Regions from separate parts of the Homo sapiens genome. Here region 1 is linked to region 2. Evidence: promoter capture Hi-C in human tissues and cell types (Jung and others, 2019). All regions are on one chromosome and are shown on one strand. The core of a region is centred on a gene start or on the middle of the fragment in contact, and the rest is flanking DNA. Distances in the headings are between cores, read along the strand shown. Region 1 overlaps CCDC192 (coiled-coil domain containing 192). Region 2 holds the start of SLC12A2 (solute carrier family 12 member 2).

Evidence for each region. The method cuts DNA at HindIII sites, captures the fragments that hold promoters and counts their contacts. A contact is called where the count stands out against the background at its distance.
Region 1: a contact is called between a fragment that was not itself captured here and the fragment with the promoter of SLC12A2 in region 2, in 2 of the 25 tissues and cell types used here (IMR-90 fibroblasts and hippocampus).

Annotation. Positions count from the first base shown.
Region 1 is chr5:127,815,722-127,819,821 of GRCh38, forward strand. All of the region lies in intron 5 of CCDC192 (coiled-coil domain containing 192), which reads left to right. Among named protein-coding and RNA genes, the nearest start is that of CCDC192, 110 kb to the left of the region's middle. The HindIII fragment of the contact is 4,888 bases long and covers 1-3,718 here.
Region 2 is chr5:128,081,830-128,086,313 of GRCh38, forward strand. SLC12A2 (solute carrier family 12 member 2) reads left to right here and starts at 1,937. Exons shown (of 27, transcript NM_001046.3): 1 at 1,937-2,881. The coding sequence starts at 2,126. It overlaps SLC12A2-DT (SLC12A2 divergent transcript), which reads right to left and starts at 1,346. Exons shown (of 4, transcript NR_152813.1): 1 at 1,141-1,346. RefSeq lists a silencer at 1,601-2,430 and an enhancer at 2,921-3,090. The HindIII fragment of the contact is 27,841 bases long and covers 1-4,484 here.

The DNA.
Region 1 (4,100 bases), core at 25-2,524, 270 kb before region 2:
GCCAGGCATGGTGGCGGGCACCTGTAGTCCCAGCTCCTCAGGAGGCTGAGGCAGGAGAATGGCATGAACCTGGGAGGCGGAGCTTGCAGTGAGAGTAGGTTGCACCATTGCACTCCAGCCTGGGCAACAGAGCGAGACTCTGTCTGAAAAAAAAAATAAAAATAAAAGAGAGAGATGTACAAGAAAGAGAATTTGTCAAAATCCATGACTGATTATATTTGGGATCAGGTGTTATTAAATATACAGTATGTATATAAAAAGTACAAAAATCACATATTTTGTCTCTAAAAGGTTTCATCCATCATTGGTTAGATAAAGCTATTAGACAATGTACTTTAAAGAAGTTGAGATACATTAATATGTGTTAGAGAAAAGTAATGAGGAGGGGAGGGGCTTATGATGGACTTGGCAAAGAAATCATGATTTGGAGTTAGTGTTCTGGAGAGAGTGACTTAGAAATCAACATACTGTTGTGTGGATAAATATTTTATAATTAGCATTAAACATTACAAAGGGTTCAAATTGCATCAGTAAAGCTTTTTAGAGGGAATTTGCTCATTGAACCATGAAAAGGGGGGATTTTCTGCAAAGGAGGCAGACAGAGATTTGCTAGGACCCTAAAGCTAATAAGCAAATTTGGGATAAGCTTGTACTTAGTTTAGCTTTAGTGGGGCTTCTAAGGTAGAGTCCTGTGATATCAGTCATGTTCTTGTTTTACAGAAATACCAGTTTAAGCAGAATAGGTATTAAGTGAAGGCCATGGCTAACTCTCACTCTCCAGGAGAGCCAGAGAACCAGATTTGGAAATGGAAGCTGAAACAATGGTCAAATCACACCACAGAACTTCCCCAGGTAGCTTCCCACTGCTGTATAGTTCTAGCTGGTACCTCTGGCTCTGTGCACTGGAAGCCTCCACTAGAACTTTTGCTTCTAAACAGGGTGTTTCTGCTGTGAACAGAGGGCACATAGCAGCTATTCTTATCTGAATTCTGGCATAAATGTTTCAAGCCTTGCACTGAGGATGCGAGGGAGGCTTCTGCTTTGAGAAAGTGAGGTCTCAAGGTGGGGAAATAACCAAGCTTAGGAAAAGTGTTCAAAGATGGTTGGCAGGCAAAAAGAATGCTATAGTTCCATCACACCCAGTAAGTTTGTGGGTCTCAGATAAAAGAAAATCAAGGCAAGTTCAACTGTAGGCTGGAAAAATATTAGAGTTCTTAATGATTGACTTATTCCATGCTATTTGTTTCTTTAAACCTTGTCCTTCAATATATCTGGATTTAAATTTGTCAAACAAAGGTGATAATGTGATATTATTAGTTATTCATATTGTTAACATTTTTCTTATGAATCATAATTGATTGGATGCTGTGATAGTCTTTCTTTTCCACCTATTACCGGGTGCAATGTCACACCTGTTGGCAGTTGGTGGCTTACAGGTACAGTGCCTTGGAGGAAATAGTGACACCCTAATAAAGTGATTCTCAAATTTAGTGAGTCTTAGGTTCACCTGAAAGCCCTATTTAAAATACAGGTAGAAGAGTTAAAATATGACCCAGCAGTTCTGTTCCTAGGTATATACTGCAGAGAATGGAAATATGTCCACACAAAAGCTTGCACAAAAATGTTCATGGCAACATTATTTACAATAGCAAAAAACTGGTAACAACTCAAATGTCCAGCAATTGATGAATGGATAAACAAAATGTAAAATATTCAACTAATGGAATATTATTTATCCATAAAAAGGAATTCTGGTTCATACTACAACATGGACAAACATTGAAAATACTGTGTTAAGTGAAAGAAGCCAAAAACAAAACTCCACATATTGTAAGATTCCATTGATTGAAAATGTCCAGAATAGGTACTGGTTGCCATTGGCCTGAGGGGGTGAGATGGATAAGGAGTGAGGGAGTGACTGCTAATGGATATGAATTTATTTTTGTATTTATGAAATGTTCTGGACTCCGTAGTGATAGTTGCACAACTTTGTGAATATACTAATATTGCTGAATTGTACACTTTAAAAGGATGACTGCTATATCTCAATAAAAAATAAAAATGAAAACAGATTCTTGAATTATTTCCCAAAGAATCTAAATGCATATCTAGGATGAGGGCTGGAAACATGTATTTTTATTTGGATGCAGCTGATCTCTGAACCACGCTTTTAGAAACATTGCATCTAGTCCTTACATGTGTAAATCTCCTAAGCTATGACATTGTAGAAGTAGTCATACAAATCCACAATTCTTCAAAGTTCATGACCTTGCTTTAGAAAATATCCGTAAAAATAGTACAAATTACTATCAGAAGAGTCTTCAGAATAAAGTATATGAAAAAACCCAGCATAGCTTTTTCCCAAATCACTGCTCTAAAATCAATGGGCGTAGTGATTTTTAATCAACATGATATTTACATATTTTTTTGCTTATAACCTGCTTGCACTCTGGAATAAATAAATTGCTACCTCTTAATGTCACTTGATAAGAGTCTAAAATACTTGAATTTGAATATATAAATCCATTAATTTAGCAAAATTTTAACATCAGTCTTATGCATTGGGTTGACATACTAAAGACTGAGTCTCTAGGACTTTGTCATCTAATGCAGAGGTTTTCAACCTTGGCCACCATTGAAGTCAACTGGGAAACATTTTTTTTAAAAAACGAATCCTGGGTTCTACTCCTAGACATCCAAAATTCTATTGATTTGGAGTACAAACAAGACATGGGGACTTTTAACATTTCCTCAAGTCATTCTAATGTGCAACCAAAGTTTGGAATTACTGCTATCAAGAAGAGATTACATAGAGACCCCATACATAGGTCTTATAGCACATTATGACAAGTGGAATGATCGTGGCTGTCAAAAATTACTATGAGAATTCAGAGGAACCATCCCTAACCCAGGGTGGAGCTGGAGACTGCTCCAAGAAGCCATCAGGTATGCCAGTGATACCTGAGCTGAGTATTAAATTAGGGAGAGGAACTGTCCAAGGGAAGATGGGGGTGGGAGTGATCTAGGCAGAGGAAGTAGCCTGTACAAAGGCAAGGAGAGTTGAAAGAGCCTGGATGTTAGCTAGGGGAAAGGACTGGTAAGGAAAATCCCAAAAGGCATGTCACATATTTTATAGCTGGCTACAGCCATTGGAAGTTTCCTCAGAAACCAACTTGAGTTGGCAATGCTGGGACTTTCAGGTCATGACATCTTCTTGCTTTGTTTCATTTGAGGAAAGGCAACAACTCCTTAATACCCCACATAATGGATTCATAGTAGAAAAAGAAAACCTAGCAGTGCTGGGCTCTTCCTGTGAGATTATTAACTGTTGAAAGGGATCCTAGCTTTCATTATTTGTAAACTGTTTCATACATGTCTACCCATATCCATTTCAATGTCACTTTTCCGGAAGTCCCTGAAACCCATGGCTCCAGATAAAGACCCCCTACTGTCCCTAAATTAAGCCACCATTGAAAGCAAGGAGGGTACACGCTAAGGCAACTACTAGGAAGCGCGCTAACAACGACTTTCCCTCAAGAGATGCCTGCTTCTTTCTTATCCCCAAAAGAACTTCAGGGCTTGGGTAGGCACCACATAATTATGTCAACAGACTCTGCTCTAGGTTCCTGACTCTGTATTCTTACTCTCTCCCCAGTCAGATTGCCATACAAATACAGGCGGTTCTCAGGTAGGGTAAATAACCATGTTATTTCCACAGGAATATTTGAGATTGTAGGGAGGTTGCCTTTATCTGGCAGGGTGGAGTCAGTGATGTGATAATATATGTTATCTTTTTTGAGTCTGGGTGGTCACTTCCATCATGTGACTTTAAAGACCTAAAATGAAAGAAGTTTACATCTTAGCAAACATTTAATGCCACAGTGAAAGATAGCATGGGAGCCAAACCCTCTGATGGTTGTTTCTTTTTAGATGTCTTTACTTCTAAAATGAATCTATTTTATAGATTGCACCATAGATTCTGAAATCCTTTCATGAAGAAGTTTGCTCTTTCTTTAGACCACCACCACGATCCCTATAAAACAATTTACAGGGAGATTCAATAGCAGGTCCAAGGTTAGAGAATCATCTTTGTCATACTT
Region 2 (4,484 bases), core at 687-3,186:
AAAATCCTGATGCAACAGCTGTTTTCCCCTCTCACCGTCTTTAAAAATAGAGATAATAAAATAGCCTGAAAAGTTGTCAAGTTCAAGTAAGATCATGTTTATGACAATTTTTTGAAAATTGCCTGGTTGCAGCTTTTACTTACAGCATTTTCAAACAGTTCTGCCAACTCTGTGGCTCTTTCATCATGTTTCAAGTGTTCAGCAAACGATGGTGTTCGTCTCCATAAAGTCAAAGTTTAAAAATACAAGGGCCGGGCGCGGTGGCTCATGCCTGTAATCCCAGCACTTGGAGAGGCGGAGGTGGGCGGATCACGAGGTCAGGAGATCGAGACCATCCTGGCTAACACGGTGAAACCCCGACTCTACTAAAAATACAAAAAATTAGCAGGGCGTGATGGCGGGCGCCTGTAGTCCCAACTACTCAGGAGGCTGAGGCAGGAGGAGAATGGCGTGAACCCAGGAGGCGGAGTTTGCAGTGAGCCAAGATCGCACCCCTGCACTACAGCTTGGGCGACAGAGCGAGACTCCGTCTCAAAAAAAAAAAAAAAAAGTACATAAATAAAAACCAAGTAATTGGAGGACGCCATTCATTGATTTTACTTAGGACTTTGGGCATAATCTATAGGTTTAAAAATTTCTGCTGCTAAGAAAGTGGGAACACAGTTATATTCCCTTACATTTTACCGAAGAGAAACTAGACCTGCAGAGGAGTACCTTTCTGTTTCTATATAAGCAGAGGAATTCTGCACAACCCAAATCACGCAGAAACCTCCTGGTAAGGACTCCACGGGTAGTTATTGCCGGCATTGTATTCTGAGAGATGAGCTGCATATCACTTTTGGAAATGCCTTAAATTAAAACTCGTCTTGAAACAACATGACGTCTCAAAGAAGCTCCCTTCTCACCTTGGAACATCAGCTTTTAAAATAAAGGTGTCATCAGAAGTGTGTAGACACCCACTGCATCACAACTGGAACTGATCTCTGGTTATGCCAATCTAGGTCTGCCTGGCAGGGTGAGTCTACCGCTCGAAAGCTGCACAGAGGAAATCCTCCCTCCTCCAGGTTCAGGCCCGGAGTTACGAGCGGAGATTCGCGGCGGCGGGTCAGAGCCCAGAGCAAACCAGGCTGGGGAACGCACCTCGCCCGCGGCTCCGGAAGCGGCTGCGGCCCCGACCGGAAAGCCCCCAGCATCGCCCGAAGGAATCGCGGCTGGCCTGCGGCTCCGGCCCGGCCTCGGGTACCACGCGCCTAGTGGGAAGCCGCACTGACGCCTGCAGCATCTCGCGAGATTTCGGGCTCAGCCCAAGTACTGCGAGTTCACCAAAGCGGGGGGAAAAAAAAAAAGCCAGCGTGCGAGAGCCTCTGAAGCCGTGGCTGGGGCGCTGGGGTGGCAGCTGCCGCGGGAGCATCAGCTACCGGCGTGAGGCGAGGCAGGGCACGCGCGCCGTCCGCAGCCCCGTTGCCTGGGCTGCAGGTCCACTGACGCGCGGCCCCTGGGTGGAGAGAGGGGAGGTGGCCTGGGAGCCCGCTCCTTTTCGCCGCAGAGCGCGGCGGGGGAGGGAGGTGAAGGCGTGGGAGGAAGGCGGCGGAAGAGGAGGTAGCCGCGCGGAGATCCTCCCGGCGACATCACTGAGGCGGAGCGTAGCCGCGCCTGCTCCCCGATCGCGCCGTTCGTGCTGCCCGCACTGCCCGAGGCCCTTTGCGGACTGGCTGGCCGCGCTCTTCGCACGGGGCGCTTTTGCGTGGGGTCGCGCAGGAGCCGCGGAGGGCCGGATCGCTGAGGGAGCGTCAGCCGCGCGCCGCTGCGGGACCGCGGGTGGGCGGGCTGAGGGGCGGAGGAGCCTCCGGCCCCGCCTCCCGCGTGCTGCTGCCGGAGCCGCCGCCGCCGCAGCCCCGCCGAGGCTTTAAACAGCGGGGCCCGCCCCGCGCCCGCCACACTCGCGCGCTCGCTCGGCTGCCGGTGGCCTCTGTGGCCGTCCAGGCTAGCGGCGGCCCGCAGGCGGCGGGGAGAAAGACTCTCTCACCTGGTCTTGCGGCTGTGGCCACCGCCGGCCAGGGGTGTGGAGGGCGTGCTGCCGGAGACGTCCGCCGGGCTCTGCAGTTCCGCCGGGGGTCGGGCAGCTATGGAGCCGCGGCCCACGGCGCCCTCCTCCGGCGCCCCGGGACTGGCCGGGGTCGGGGAGACGCCGTCAGCCGCTGCGCTGGCCGCAGCCAGGGTGGAACTGCCCGGCACGGCTGTGCCCTCGGTGCCGGAGGATGCTGCGCCCGCGAGCCGGGACGGCGGCGGGGTCCGCGATGAGGGCCCCGCGGCGGCCGGGGACGGGCTGGGCAGACCCTTGGGGCCCACCCCGAGCCAGAGCCGTTTCCAGGTGGACCTGGTTTCCGAGAACGCCGGGCGGGCCGCTGCTGCGGCGGCGGCGGCGGCGGCGGCAGCGGCGGCGGCTGGTGCTGGGGCGGGGGCCAAGCAGACCCCCGCGGACGGGGAAGCCAGCGGCGAGAGCGAGCCGGCTAAAGGCAGCGAGGAAGCCAAGGGCCGCTTCCGCGTGAACTTCGTGGACCCAGCTGCCTCCTCGTCGGCTGAAGACAGCCTGTCAGATGCTGCCGGGGTCGGAGTCGACGGGCCCAACGTGAGCTTCCAGAACGGCGGGGACACGGTGCTGAGCGAGGGCAGCAGCCTGCACTCCGGCGGCGGCGGCGGCAGTGGGCACCACCAGCACTACTATTATGATACCCACACCAACACCTACTACCTGCGCACCTTCGGCCACAACACCATGGACGCTGTGCCCAGGATCGATCACTACCGGCACACAGCCGCGCAGCTGGGCGAGAAGCTGCTCCGGCCTAGCCTGGCGGAGCTCCACGACGAGCTGGAAAAGGTGAGCTCGCCCAGCCCTCCCTTCTTCCCCAGCCCCTGGTGCATGCCGACCGCGGGATGTGGCTGCAGACTCTTCCCGAGTTGAGGTGGCGGGAGTAGTAGACGTGCACGACTTGCTGGCATCTCTGGATTCAGCTGTCAAGGGTGGAATTGCCGAGGAATGTTAACTTAATCTCTCAAAAGTTTGTAGCGGGTTTGGCTAGTTACGTGATACCGGAGGGCTGCCTCTAACAACCTTCCCCATCCAGTTAGGTATCTCGTGTGCACTTTCTTTCCCACCCACGCTCAACAGTCACCATCCCTCTGAATGACAGTAGTGTTTGTGGGCCCTTTAGAGGAGAATGTGCAGTGAGGATCTCTCGAGAGAGGTTGGAGAGCACCTACCATCTGTGTCGTTTTGAAAGATTGTGTTGTGTGGCTTATGTACGCCTATTAGGGATCGCAAGAGTGGGAATGTTGCTGTTTGAAGGAAAACCTTAACAGGGTGTGTTTATGGTCTATGAGTTATTAAAGCTCAATTCTTGCAATCTTGAATATACAAAGGATCATAGAGATCTTGTCTTGGGACACGCTGTTCCTAATAATGGCATAACTCTTTTTTTTTGCGATGAAAACGTTTTGGGAGAGGTGTATATTTAAAAAAAAAGGGACAGAGGCGAGTCTTTAAAGAAAAAAGGGAAACAGGAGAATTGGTTTTTCTGTAGAGGATGACCAGAAAGACCTGTGGGGTCTTTGCCATAAGCAGTTACACTTTGTAAACAGAAAACCATCCCCATAAACTCATTGATTTTTGTAACTATTTTTTATGGTCACATAAGACTTATTTCTTCAGCGTTCAATGTCACTGTTTTGAGATAACATTGATGCTTTTGAGATTTCGTTAATGTTTAACTTTTTTATGAGCCGGGATTACTTGAAGTCTTCCTTTACAAGTGTGTAATGACTACATTGATGGAATTTGTGAACGCAAGAGGATGGTACCACATAGGTTGAAATGATCACAGTTTGGACAAGTTTAAATCCAGTATGTGATTTCTTTTGGATATGATTATTTGATCTCATACAGTGATTTCATACAAGATTGTACTTGTCCCAGTGTTTGATAATGTAACATTCACACAGAGGTAATTACAGAGCTCTTACAGCTTATTGATTGTTTAAAAGCCTGAGATCATTTAGCTTTAGATAATACTATTCTTGTTATTCCATTGTGGTATTTTGTCATAATCAGAAGCAAAACAATGTCTAAAACATTTTTTATTCATACTCCTGTAGTTTCTATCAAGTCTATTCTTTTTTCTTTTCAAAACTCAAAAATCATTGTAGACAAAAGTAGATATGGAGCTGGCAATTTTCATTATCTTAGGACAGTTTTACTAATGAAAATATTATACAGATATATTTTAGATTTATTTTACCAAAGCCAAGTATGTGAGCAGTAAAGTGATCTGTATTTACCCATAAGTTTTAGAAAGACATCCAATTGAAAGGTATATATGTTGAGCTTATATGCTTCCTAGGGAAGTTTTTGCTACTTTAAATTAAATTATCTCAATAACAAAGCACTTCAAGTTCTCCAAAACTTTAGATTTGTGTGTTTGTGT